Regions from separate parts of the Homo sapiens genome. Here regions 2, 3 and 4 are each linked to region 1. Evidence: promoter capture Hi-C in human tissues and cell types (Jung and others, 2019). All regions are on one chromosome and are shown on one strand. The core of a region is centred on a gene start or on the middle of the fragment in contact, and the rest is flanking DNA. Distances in the headings are between cores, read along the strand shown. Region 1 holds the start of HAS3 (hyaluronan synthase 3). Region 2 has its middle 40 kb from the start of ZFP90. Region 3 overlaps SMPD3 (sphingomyelin phosphodiesterase 3). Region 4 holds the start of SMPD3 (sphingomyelin phosphodiesterase 3).

Evidence for each region. The method cuts DNA at HindIII sites, captures the fragments that hold promoters and counts their contacts. A contact is called where the count stands out against the background at its distance.
Region 2: a fragment that was not itself captured here is called in contact with the fragment with the promoter of HAS3 in region 1 in 2 of the 25 tissues and cell types used here (spleen and thymus).
Region 3: a fragment that was not itself captured here is called in contact with the fragment with the promoter of HAS3 in region 1 in 2 of the 25 tissues and cell types used here (dorsolateral prefrontal cortex and mesenchymal stem cells).
Region 4: the fragment with the promoter of SMPD3 here is called in contact with the fragment with the promoter of HAS3 in region 1 in 3 of the 25 tissues and cell types used here (adrenal gland, mesenchymal stem cells and mesendoderm cells).

Annotation. Positions count from the first base shown.
Region 1 is chr16:69,104,160-69,107,197 of GRCh38, reverse strand. It overlaps HAS3 (hyaluronan synthase 3), which reads right to left and starts at 1,545. Exons shown (of 4, transcript NM_001199280.2): 1 at 1,411-1,545. RefSeq lists a silencer at 919-1,198 and an enhancer at 1,332-1,880. The HindIII fragment of the contact is 9,378 bases long and covers 1-3,038 here.
Region 2 is chr16:68,577,291-68,580,329 of GRCh38, reverse strand. No RefSeq gene overlaps it. Among named protein-coding and RNA genes, the nearest start is that of ZFP90, 40 kb to the right of the region's middle. The HindIII fragment of the contact is 6,765 bases long and covers 1-3,039 here.
Region 3 is chr16:68,419,574-68,422,732 of GRCh38, reverse strand. All of the region lies in intron 1 of SMPD3 (sphingomyelin phosphodiesterase 3), which reads left to right. Among named protein-coding and RNA genes, the nearest start is that of SMPD3, 27 kb to the left of the region's middle. The HindIII fragment of the contact is 3,675 bases long and covers 1-3,159 here.
Region 4 is chr16:68,446,994-68,449,977 of GRCh38, reverse strand. It overlaps SMPD3 (sphingomyelin phosphodiesterase 3), which reads left to right and starts at 1,470. Exons shown (of 9, transcript NM_018667.4): 1 at 1,470-1,625. It overlaps LOC124903705 (a long non-coding RNA gene), which reads right to left and starts at 1,138. Exons shown (of 2, transcript XR_007065097.1): 1 at 912-1,138; 2 at 1-813. RefSeq lists an enhancer at 1,103-1,152 and a silencer at 1,253-1,772. The HindIII fragment of the contact is 13,014 bases long and covers 1-2,984 here.

The sequences.
Region 1 (3,038 bases), core at 296-2,795:
TGTGGTCGAGGTTCTCCTGCCCAGACCTGGGGCGGGGGGCTGTGTCACCCCAAGCCGGCAGAGGCTGTGGGGTGATCCTACAGCCTGGACCGCCGCCTCCTCATGCCCTTCGCTCATCCACGGGAGCCCAGCCCAGGCAAACTAACGCGCACTCGGCTTTCAAGGGCACAAGGTTGGGGGCGCTCTCAAGTCCGGCTCCCAGGACTACGGAAGGAGAACCCCCAGTCAAGGACGCACGCTTCTCCATCAAGCCTCCGAAACTTTGAGGGGCTGCTGGTGTGCAGCGTCTCTCCCGCTGACAGGTGCGCCCCGCGGCAGGGCCACACGCAGCGGCATGGAAACTTGTGCGCCCAACGGGGCTCCTCCTCTTGTGCCCGGCCGCCCTCCGGGCCCCTCCAGGCCGGCCAGGGGAGGGGAGCCCACTCCCCCGGACACGTGCTGCCGCGGCCCGGCTAACCCGCAGGAACGTGGGCGCCTGGTACCTTGGTGCCCGGACAGGTGCAAACCCCCGGGAGGTCGTAGAAGGTGCGGGGGAGGGGTACCCCAGCCAGCCTGGAGCCCCGCACCGGCGTCCGCCTCCTAATTCATTCACAAAACAGGAGCCGCCGGGGAGGAGGGAGGCGAGGCTGGAAGAGGAGAGGATGCAGGAAGAAAGGGAGGAGGGGTCAGTGGGGAGGGGGCTGCAGGAACGGCCGCCGGGAAGCCCGGGGCTGCCGCCGCCCCCAACCCGCCTCCCCGCGCCGGACGCGGCGCCCGCAGGGCTGGGAGCTGGCCGGGTGCGGGGGGCTCGGCGAGAGGCACCCCTGCCACCCGGCGCGCCCCGGCCTCGGCGCAGCCCCGCGCGGCCCTCCCCTCCTGGGTGCCGGCCGGCCCGCGCTCACCGTGCCGCCGGCTGCCGCGCTCCGGAGCTCAGCAGGCCCGCGGCGGCTCCATGCCCCTCCTCCCGCTCCGCTCCGCGCCGCCGCGCGCTCCGACTGCCGCCTGCCCAGCCGAGCCGCCCTTAAGTACCCGGCGCGTGCCCGCCAGGAGAGGCGCCTCCCCCGGCCCTGGGGCCGGGAAAGTTGACCAGAGTGGGAGGGCCCCCGCGGGCGCACCCCCGACCCCGCGCGGTCCCAGGGAGCGCCACAAGCCAGCGCTCGGCGGGGACGCCTAGTCCCGGGTGGACGCGGCTCCGGCTCGCAAGACTCGCAGCCCCTGCGCCCTCTCCGAAGCTGGGTCCCCCGAGTGGGGCCGAAGGCCACGCGGCTCTGCAATCGCCCTGGGACCAGCTGCCAAGGCAAGACGGTCATTGGGCTCAACCTAGAACCTGAAGCGTCGTTAACTTTCCAGATACCACGCAGGGACTTCCAAAATTGTTACTCTCCCTCCCCGCCCCCACGCCCCGCTCTCTAACCCGCAAAACCTACTCACCCTGCAAGGAAGGCGAGCTGAGAGCACTCTTCCCCGACTTCTGCACGCGAAGGGGCAGTTCGCTGTCTAGGGGGCTCCCGAAAGCCAAGGCAGCAAAACCTTCCTGCTGGCAGGAAAGAGGCGCTGAAGAGAATTGTCAAATGTAAAAAGGCTGGTCAAAGAAGGTGTTAACAATTGTGACAGCTTAGCTTTGAATTCCGCAGTGGGGCGCTGATGACTTTAAGGCGGTTTGCAAAAGCTGCAAACGGTTTTGTAGGAACCTTGGAGGTTCCGGTGTCTTAAAGCCAAAACAATTCCTCCTCTTCTTTTTCACACCTTTATTTCCGACATCCATGACCTCCTAAATTCCCAACTGACCTTATCGACAGTAGTTTTCAGGTCCCTAAAAGATAGTGCTAGACTCGAGTAAAGTGAGATGAAGTGAGTTGGGGTGCACTGGGGTGGGGTGAGATCGAGGAGGGGGGAGAGTTGTTAGCAGAGACAAGAAGTTTAGAACCAGCTGAAGGCGATGAGTTTTTACATCTCAGGAAAACTTGAAGAGAAATTATAATTAATAACTAGTTTTTAAAAAATGAGTGGCCGGGCGCCGTGGCTCAAGCCTGTAATCTCAGCACTTTCGGCGTTACGGGCACCATGCCCGTAATCCCAGCTACTCGGGAGGCTGAGGCAGGAGAATCGCTTGAACCCCGCAGGTGGAGGTTGCAGTGAGCTGAAATCGCACCACTGCACTCCAGCTTGGGCAGCAGAGCGAGACTCCGTCTCCAAAAAAAAAAAAAAAAAAAAAAAAAAAAAAAACCAAAAAACAGAGTTTACCTGTTTTCCAAATACACCTGATATAATTTCTATCACTTCTTCCCAAGCTGCAACAAATTTATAGGCACCTGAGCTGCAGTCTATAAACTTCTCCTCTCGCAAGTTTTAGGGGCTCAGGGACTTGCCTGCCCACCATTGCTCAGTCTGGGCCACAGACCTCACACCTCAGTCCCCGCAGGCAAGCAAAGACCCCAGGCACACCTACTCCACACAATCCCATCTTACATTATTGGCCAGGCACAGTGGCTCACACCTGTAGTCCCAGCACTTTGGGAGGCTGAAGATGGAGGATCGCTTGAGGCCAGGAGTTCAAGACCAGCCTGGGCAACAAAGCGAGACTTCCCCCGTCTCTACAAAAATTAAAATTAAAAAATTAGCCAGGGCCGGGTGCAGGCTCACGCCTGTAATCCCAACACTCTGGGAGGCCGAGGTGGGCGGATCACGAGGTCAGAAGTTAGAGACCAGCCTGGCTAATATGGTGAAACCCTATCTCTACTAAAAAATACAAAAATTAGCCAGGCATGGTGGCACGTGCCTGTAGTCCCAGCCACTGGGAAGGTTGAGGCAGAAGAATCGCTTAAACCCAGGAGACAGAGGTTGCAGTGGGCCAAGATTATGCCACTGTACTCCAGCCTGGGCGACAGAGTGAGACTCCATCTCAAAAAATAAAAATAAAAAAAAAAAGAAAAAGAAAAGAAAAGAAAAAAAAAAAAAACATTAGCCAGGCATGGTGGAGTGTGCCTGTAGTCCCAGCTACTAGGGAGGCTGAGGCAGGAGAATTGCTTGAGCCCAGGAGGTCAAGGCAACAGTGAGCT
Region 2 (3,039 bases), core at 508-3,007, 530 kb after region 1:
TAATGAAGGAGGGGGCACCAGCGAGCACCTTTGGGGGCCAGGCACTCCCGGGAGTGGCAAATGGGCACCCCATTTCTCTCTCTGCCTTTGGTCTAGCTTCCTTGCTGGGCCGAGATTACGCCACTGCACTCCACCCTGGGCAACAAAAGTGAAACTCCATCTCAAAAATAAATAAATTAATTAATTAAATAAAATAAAGATAAATAAATAAAATATACAATTCAGGCTGGGAGTGGTGGCTCACACCTGTAATCCCAGCACTTTGGGAGGCCGAAGCGGGCAAATCATCTGAGGTTAGGGGTTTGAGACCAGCCTGGCCAACATGGTGAAAAATACATTTTTACATTGTATTGTAAAAATACAAAACTTAGCCGAGTGTGGTGGTGCATACCTGTAATCCCAGCTACTGGAGAGGCTGAGGCGCAAGAATCACTTGAACCCAGGAGGTGGAGGTTGCGGTGAGCGGAGATTGTACCACTGCACTCCAGCCTGGGCAACACAGCGAGACTCTGTCTCTGAAAAAAATAATATATGTATATATAATTCAGTGAGGTTAGACAGATGTGAATACTCATGAAGCTATCACCACAATCAACTTATCAAGCATTTCTGTCACCCCTAGGAATTTTCTTGTGTCCCTCTGCAGCCAATCTCTCCTTCTGCTCCTGGCCCTAGGCAACTGCTGATTGGCTTTTTGTCAATAAAGGTACATTTTCTAGAATTTTGTACAAATGAAATCATGTAGTATGTAACCTTTTGGGTCTTTCACTTAGCATAATTATTTTGAAATTCATGCATGTTGTATGTATTAACAGTTCATTCCTTCTTATTACTGTGTAGTATTCCACTGTGTGGATACATCATGATTTGTTTATCCATTCACCTGCTGATGCACCTTTGAGTTGTTTCCAGTTTTTGACTATTGCAAAAAAAAAGTTGCTAGAAACATTCATGTACAGGTCTGCATGGACATGTTTTCTCTTGTTTTTTAGAGACAGCATCTTGTGTTGCCAAGGCTGAAGTGCAGTGGTACAATCATAGCTCACTGCAACCTCGAATTCATGGGCTCAGGCACTCTTCCCAACTCAGCCTCCTGAGTAGCTGGGACTACAGGCACACGCCACCATACTCAAGTAATAAAAAAAAAATTTTTTTTAAGAGATGGGATCTTACTGTGTTGCCCAGGCTGATCCGGAACTCCTGACCTCAAGTGATCCTCCTGCCTTGGCCTCCCAAACTGTTGGGATTACAGGCAGGAGCCACCACACCCAGCCCAATTTTTCTCTTAAAGTCTGTTTTGTTCTGACATTGGTATAGGCATCACAGCTCTCTCTTGGTTTCTATTTGTGTGGTATAAATCTCTTCCCATCCTTTTACTTTCAACCTGTTTGTACCTTTGAATTTAATTTGTGTCTCTTGTAGGCAACATCTAGTTGATTTTTTTTTTTTTTTTTTTTTTTTTTTTTAGGCAGAGTCTCACTCTGTTGCCCAAGCTGGAATGCAGTGGCACAATCTCGGCTCACTGCAACCTCTACCTCCTGGGTTCAAGCAATTCTCCTGCCTCAGCCTCCCAAGTAGCTTGGATTACGGGTGTGTGCCACCATGCCTGGCTAATTTTTTTATTTTTAGTAGACATTGGGTTTCACCACGTTGGCCAAGCTGGTCTCGAGCTGCTAACCTCAGGTCCGCCCACCTCAGCCTCCCAAAGTGCTGGGATTACAGGCATGAGCCACCACGCCCCGGCCTGAATCATGTTTTTAAATCCATTCTGCTGGCCAGGTGCAGTGGCTCATGCCTGTAATCCCAGATTACAGGGATTACCCGCCTCCCAGGTTCACACGATTCTCCTGCCTCAGCCTCCTGAGTAGCTGGGACTACAGGCGCCTGCCACCACTCCTGGCTAATTTTTTGTATTTTTAGTAGAGACAGGGTTTCACCGTGTTAGCCAGGATGGTCTCAATCTCCTGACCGTGTGATCTGCCTGCCTCAGCCTCCCAAAGTGCTGGGATTACAGGTGTGAGCCACCGGGCCTGGCCTTTTTTTTTTATTTTTTTTGAGATGGAATCTCACTCTATTGCCCAGGCTGGAGTGCAGTGATGCAATATCAACTCACTGCAACACATACCTCCCAGGTTCAAGTGATTCTCCTGCCTCATCCTCCTGAGTAGCTGGGATTACAGGCACCTGCCATCACACCCAGCGAGCTTTTGTATTTTTAATAGAGATGGGGTTTTGCTATGTTGGCCAGGCTGGTCTCAAACTCCTAAGCTTCAGTCTCCCAAAGTGCTGGGATTACAGGCATGAGCCACTGCACCTGGCCCAATCTATTCCTTTTGATTGTGCTTAATCCATTTACACTTGATGTATTTACTTGTAAGGTAGAGTTTATATCTGCCATTTTGGTATTTGTATCTATAGGTCTTATGTCTTTTTGATATGGCCTGTTTTCTTTTGTGTTAAACAGTATTTTCCAGTGTATCATTTAATTTGATTATGATGTGTCTAGGTGTGGACCTCTTAAGAGTTTATCCTCCTTGGAGTTTTTTTGAGATTCTTAGATGTATGTTTTTTGATCTGGGAAGTTTTGGCCATTATTTCTTCAAATATTATTTCTGCTCCTTTCCCTCCCTTCTCTTCTTCTGGGACTCCTGTTACACAAATGTTGGTATGCTTGATGGTGTCCCACAGGTCTCTGAGGCTCTGTTTACTTTTTTTCATTCCTTTTAAAATCCTGCTCCTCAGACTGAAACTCTCAATTGACGTAGCTTCGAGTTTGCTGAATATTTCTTTTGCTTGCTCAAATCTGCTGCTGAACCCCTCTAGTGAATTTTTCATTTCAGTTAATGTACTTTTGAATTCCCAAATTTCTATTTTGTCATTAAAAATAATTTCTACCTCTTTATTGATAGTTTCTATTTGGTGAAATATTGTTCTCATATTTTCCTTTAGTTCTCTAGACATGGTTTCATTTAGTTCTTTAAACATATTTTAAAATAGCTAAGGTAAAGTCTTGTTTAGGCTTCCTCAGGAAGTTTCTAT
Region 3 (3,159 bases), core at 408-2,907, 680 kb after region 1:
TTCCCTGGAGGTTAAAATAAGGAGACTGCATGGGAAGCAATTTGCAGTCATCTCAGATCTGTGGCTAAGGAGAAAATTCCCTCCCCTTTTCTCCAAACCCTCAGCATCATCAAACTAAACAACCCCTCAGTGGGAGGTGGAATTCTTCACCACCAGTTCTCACCTGACTGGAGGCCTCCAAGCAGCTGGGCCTGTACTGTTTTTTATTTCAACAACAGCAAAACCTTCTTTTCCTCCCTCTGAGCACTTTACTATACTCTGTTTCCTGCACATTCTTCCAGCTTCTTGCTCAGGGGCCTTATACGTCTATCTTGTCCAAGCACCTGCCCAGATCACAGCAAAATGAGAACCAGGCCCAACATCCATGGCTTTCCCAGTTCTGGGCAAGGGAAGAGGTTAATTCAGATTCCATGAGGGCCTCTGCAGAATCACAATATTTCCTCACCTAGGATAAATTCCACCTCCTTCTGAGGATTTCTGCTGTAGTTTGGTGATGCTGAGGAATATGTTATCTTACAGTTTTGGAGGTCAGAAACCCAAAATCAATTTCACTGAGCTAAAATCAAAGCATCAGCAGGCTGGTGTTCCTTCGGGAAGCTCTAGGGGAGAATCTGTTTCCTTCTAACTTCTAGAGCCTGCCTATATTCCTTGGCTCCTTGCTCCTTCCTCCATTTTCAAAGCTTCAGCCTCTGCTTCCTTGTCATCCTCTTCTTCCACCTTCAGCGGTCTTGCTTCCCTCTCAAAAGGATCCTTGTCGTTACGTTGGGCCTATCTGGATAATCCAGGCTTCTCTCCCCATCTCAAGATGCTTGACTTAATCACATCTGCAAAGTTCCTTTTGCCACATAGAGTAGCATATTCACCAGTTCTGGAGATTAGGATATGGACATCTTTCAGGGGCTACTACCAAGTCTAATAGGCAGGCCACTGGACCCCTAAGCCTTGGTTTCATCAAGCAAGTAGGGAAGAAAAACAATGCCCACCCCTAGACTCTTTAATGGGTCGAACTCAATGGTGCCCTGGAATGTCAATGGCTAGGAATGGAGGCCGAGCTATGAGTATCAGGCCTCATTCCCTAGCCAAGTCAAAGAGATGTGTCTGGGAGGTGGTAGAGTGAGGGAGTGGGGCTTGGACTTAATTGTTTTACTGGACATGGCTTCTTCAGGTGTACTGGGGGAGTGGTTTGCACAAACACTGCCAGGTTGGTCATAAGTCTGTCCCCCTGGCTCATTGCCATGCTGGCTTTGGCTCCATTGCCTCTGGTCTCTTCATCCCCCACCCCACATACCTATCTTCCTGTGCTGTCATTCCAAAGCACACATATAACCACGTCTCTCCCTTTTGTGGCTCCCCCTCATCCTTGGGTGGAGGTTCAAGCTCTTTACCTTGAGTTACACAGTCTCTGCCATTCCCCACAAGCGCCAGACAGAGCCACAGAAAGCAGGTGGCAGATGTGCGAGGGCAGAGCTGGGAATGGGGGTGAAGCAGATGAGGGAGGATGGGGATACTGTGCAGATGGTGTTGCAGGGACGGGCCTGACTCCAGGGGCCCCTGTGTACAGAGGCAGTTGGTGCCGACATGCTGGTGGTCTCTGGCTGTGAACCCAGGTGGGCCAGTGAATGAGCATCAGGTAGAACCCAGCCCATCAGAGCTGTTGGCCTGGTCCTGACTCAAATGGGAGTGGCTTCTGGGTGCTGGTTATTGTTCTGAAGTCTGGAAGGACAAGAGGGGAAGTCTTTTCTCCACAAATGATTTTGGCCAAACCCCAGGGATGGAGAATGCCCACTAGGACCTGGATGAGCTGAAGGCCATAGCTTGCTGAGGGAGCGATTTGGTCTCTCTCTGCATTAGCTGAAGACATGTTGAAGTGGGTTCAGGGCCCCCACCTACCTGAGTCACCATCATGAAGCTTAATTAATGCTTACAAAGTGCTCTGAGGCCTTGACTGAGAGGCCTCATGTGAACACAGAATATCCTTATTAATCACTGTGACAGCACCAAGTGAGGTGGCCTATGGGGCAGCTGCCTCCACACACAGAACAATGGATGCAGCCCAGCAGTTAAATTGCGATTTTGAAGAGTAGTCCTGATCAGCTGGTTCAAAAGCAGCTTAGCTGGAGGAGGCAGGCCTGCCTAGGAGCCACTTAACTCACCTGGCCCTTATCTCCCATGCATTAAGTTGAGGCAATAAAACGCCCCTCCCTGCTGGGCAGGGATAATGGGAGGACTGTCAGGTAATGGTGAAGCATCCCTTTTAAGCCTGGGTAACCAGGCTATTAGCCTAGCCAGAGGGAGCCAACTGGAAGATCATATAGGCTCCGTACCAGGCTGAGTGTCTTTGGACAAGTCCCTCAACTTCTCTGAACCTCAATTTCCTCATCTGCAAAGTGGGACAATAACAATTGTACCTTTTTCCTTATAGGATTGCGAAGTTCAAATGAAATGGATATGAAAGGTGCCTATAGTAATGATATTAGTAATAAGAATAATGGCCGGGCATGGTGGCTCACACGTATAATCCCAGCACTTTGGGAGGCTGAGGCAGATGGATCACCTGAGGTCAGGAGTTCGGTACCAGCCTGGCCAACATGGCAAAACCTGTGCATGCCTGTGGTCTCAGCTACTTGGGAGACAGGTGGGAGGATTGCTTGAGCCTAGGAGGTTGAGGCTGCAGTGAGCCAAGATCACACCACTGCACTCCAGGCCATGTGACAAGAAAGACACTATCTCTTAAAAAAAAAAAAAAAAAAGCAATAGCTATTCGGGATACTACATGTTCCAATAATCAGCTACTCTGATCCCCACTTTACAGATGAGGGAGCCCAAGAACAAAGTGACCTCCAAGTTCCCACAATTAGTGATAGGTGGAGCTGGAACTCAGGCAGTCTGGCTTCAAAGTCTGTTCTCTCCCCCACTCTCTGATGCTGCCTTTATCATTAGTGTCATTATACTCATTTTAGGAGTAAGGCTTCATTATGGTTGTCATCTTCATCATCATCATTACATGGGGTTCATGGAAGCTGGGCCCTGGGGCATCTGTGCTATGTTGGAGGTGAGGAGGGTTCTCTCTATCTTCCATAGGAAGGGAGGAAAGTTATTGTTGTCAAGATAGAGGTGAAGTACATGGTTTTTCTCTTACCAAAACTCTGGAGATGCAAG
Region 4 (2,984 bases), core at 221-2,720, 660 kb after region 1:
TTGTCCAGGCTGGAGTGTAGTGGTGCAATCTCGACTCACTGCAACCTCCACCTCCCGGGGTTCAAGCGATTCTCCCGCCTCAGCCTCCTGAATAGCTGGGATTACAGGCACGTGCCACCACGCCCAGCTAATTTTTGTATTTTTAGTAGAGACTGGGTTTCACCATTTTGGTCAGACTTGTCTCGAACTCCTGACCTAGTGATCCACCTGCCTCGGCCTCCCAAAGTTCTGGGATTACAGGCGTGAGCCACCACGCCCGGCCCAATTCATTTTCAATTCAACAAATATCTATATTTATATCTCAATAGCTAGTGAGTGCCTACTACGTGCCAGATACTAGACACTGGACTGTAAGTATGAATAATATAGACATGGCCCCTCCCCTGTGGATCTTATAATGAGGAAGACGAGCACATAAACATGCAAGTAGAACAGGGGAAGTAGAGGGTGCTGCTCAAACACAGGGTGGGGCACTCAACAGACAGCCCAGCATCTAGATGTCTTCACAAAACAGGCAATGTCTAGGCTGGGGCTTGCCGACGAGTTAGCTGAGGGCAGGGTGGAGAGGCCCAAGGGAGTAGGAGGCTTCCCAGCTTCCAAAGAAGTTAAGAGTGTTGCAAAAAAGTGGAGTCCAGATCTTGAAGGGGAGAGTGGGCTTAGGTCCGGGGGCATGTGAAGCGCCCTCCGTCTGCTGCGCTGGGGGAGATGCTGCGGTATCCTGGAGTGGTGTGAAGGAGGCCAGGACCTGCGATGGGAAGACGGAGACGGGAAGGCCCTGGTGGCCCAAGGGATGACCAAAAGTGAAGCGCTCCTCTATGACAAGATTGAGACAAAAATAAAGGAATAAAGTTCTGAATGCGGTGGGAGAGTCTCCTCCGTCCTCCCTCACCTTTGCTGGGCAGGAACCAAACCTGCTTGCCCTCGGTTTGCCCCATCACCGACGGGTGTGGTCGGGGGCACAGCTCTTCGCCCTTCTTCTCAGATAGGAAAACTGAGGCCCAGGGTCCTGAGGCAGAAATCAAGGTTTTCTCCTCGAAATGGCCTCCCAAGAGGCTGCCCGGGGTCTCACACGATCCTTCGAGGGTCCTGCGGCCTGCCCCACGCCTCCGCCAGCCATCCTCGGCTGGTCGTCTTTGCTATGGAAACGGTCCTCCCGCCCTGCTCCGCGCCTCCGTGTCTTCAGTGCACTCTGGGAAATGCAGTCCCGCTCTGTTTGCCTACCCGCGGCGTGAGCCCACTCCGCGTCCTTAAAGAACTATAAGTCCCAGAAGGCTGTGCGAAACTCCGCCGGTCTCTGGGGGATGTGGTCTTGAAGGAGAGACCCAGGAACCTGCGGGCGGGGCCGGAGGGAGAGGGGAGGACGCCCCCAATGGGCAGACTCCTGGGCGGGGTCCGGGTCACCATTGGCTCCGGCGGCGCGAGGGAGGCGGGGTCAGAGGAATGAAGCGCGGAGCTGTTCGCCGCTCCAGGTGCTGAGTCTGAGGGAGGCTCCGGACCCGAGAGCCGCGAGAGCCGCCGCCGCTGCGGCCGCCGCCAGATCTGCGGCCGGGAGCCCGGGCTGTGAGGAGCCGGGAGGAGCGGGGTGCGCTGCCGGGCGCTGACCGCCCTCCCGCCCGCCGTCAGAGGTCAGTGCTGCTGAATTCGCTTTTGTTTTCTTGGGGAGCGGGCGAACCGAGGCGTGAGGGGCTGGGGAGTTGACGGGACGTGTTCTCGTTGCTCTCAGGACCGCGGGTCCCGGACAGCCGCCGACTGACTAGGGGCCTCCCGTGGCCGGGCGCCGGAGGTCGGAGCAGCTTGGGTTAGTTTTCGTTTTATCATGGAGAAGGCTCTTGGGTATGAGGGGCGAGGGCTGGGGGTCACCCCCACCCCCCATCTCTCCTGGGAGAGCGAGGAGGCTTGGACCCTCCCTCCCGCTGTGCCTGGCGACGGGGCTGCTCGGATTACTCAGGACGGGAGGATGAGGTGTTGTGGGATGAAGGGACTCGAGGCAGGGGGACCCCTCCCCGCAACACTTCGGCTGCTCGAGGTTACAAAGGAGTCTGGTGGTGATGGATGAGATCGCGGACCGCTCCCCTAGCCCAGACCCTCCCAGGGGTATTCAGGAAGGGCTGCTTGGGATGCAGGGAAGACCCTTGCCCAGGCCCCTTCCTCCACACTCGCCCCCCTCCCTATTCCCCCCTCCTCCCTTGGCCCTAGGGTTTTGTAAAGAGGAGGATCGAGGATGTGGAAGAGACAGAGGACTCTTACCCCTCCCACTTGGACCCTCCTAGGTTACTGGTGAAGGGTGGAATTGGAATGTGGCAGGGAAACGCTGGGAGACCCCTCCCCATCCTTCTCGGAGTCGCGGGTGGAGGAAAGCACTGACACTCGGAATCCCCCGCGCTCGGGCCCGCGCCGAGGGTTGGGTGGCCTGGGTGTGAGAGGTAGTGTAGGGGGATGTACGAGGACAGGAGGGACCCCTCCCCACCTCTCCCCACCTGGGCCTTATCTCCCAGGCCCTCCCTACCTGGATCCAGGCCTGGGGCTCTAAGTCGAGACGACCCGCCCTAGCCCACCACGCCCCGGGGACCGAGCCTCTGGCACCGCAGCTGGGGGCCAATCCCAGATGGGCATGTACAGAGCGGGACGGGGCGGGTCTCCCCTCAAGCACTCAAGAGCTCCAGGTAGACGCTACCCCCAACCTCGTGCCCGCGAATCTTTGGGGGCTGCTCCGCTCCGATGCAGGGCGCACCCCAAACCGAGGCTCGGGGACCTGCTTCCAGGACGCGCGGTGGCTGTTCCAAGGCATGGGGCTTTCGCGCTCGGCCCAGGCATCCTCGAGAGGACAAAGCGGCGGTCGCCGCACTGGCAGGCCTGCGCCGCGGGCTGGGCGGGGGGCGCGGCCGCGGAGGGGGGGCTTCGGGCGCGGCGCGGGCAGCTTCCACGGAAACGTGCCAGGAGCGGGGCGGGAGACAAAGCGCACCGGCTTCTAGCGGGCCCGCGCG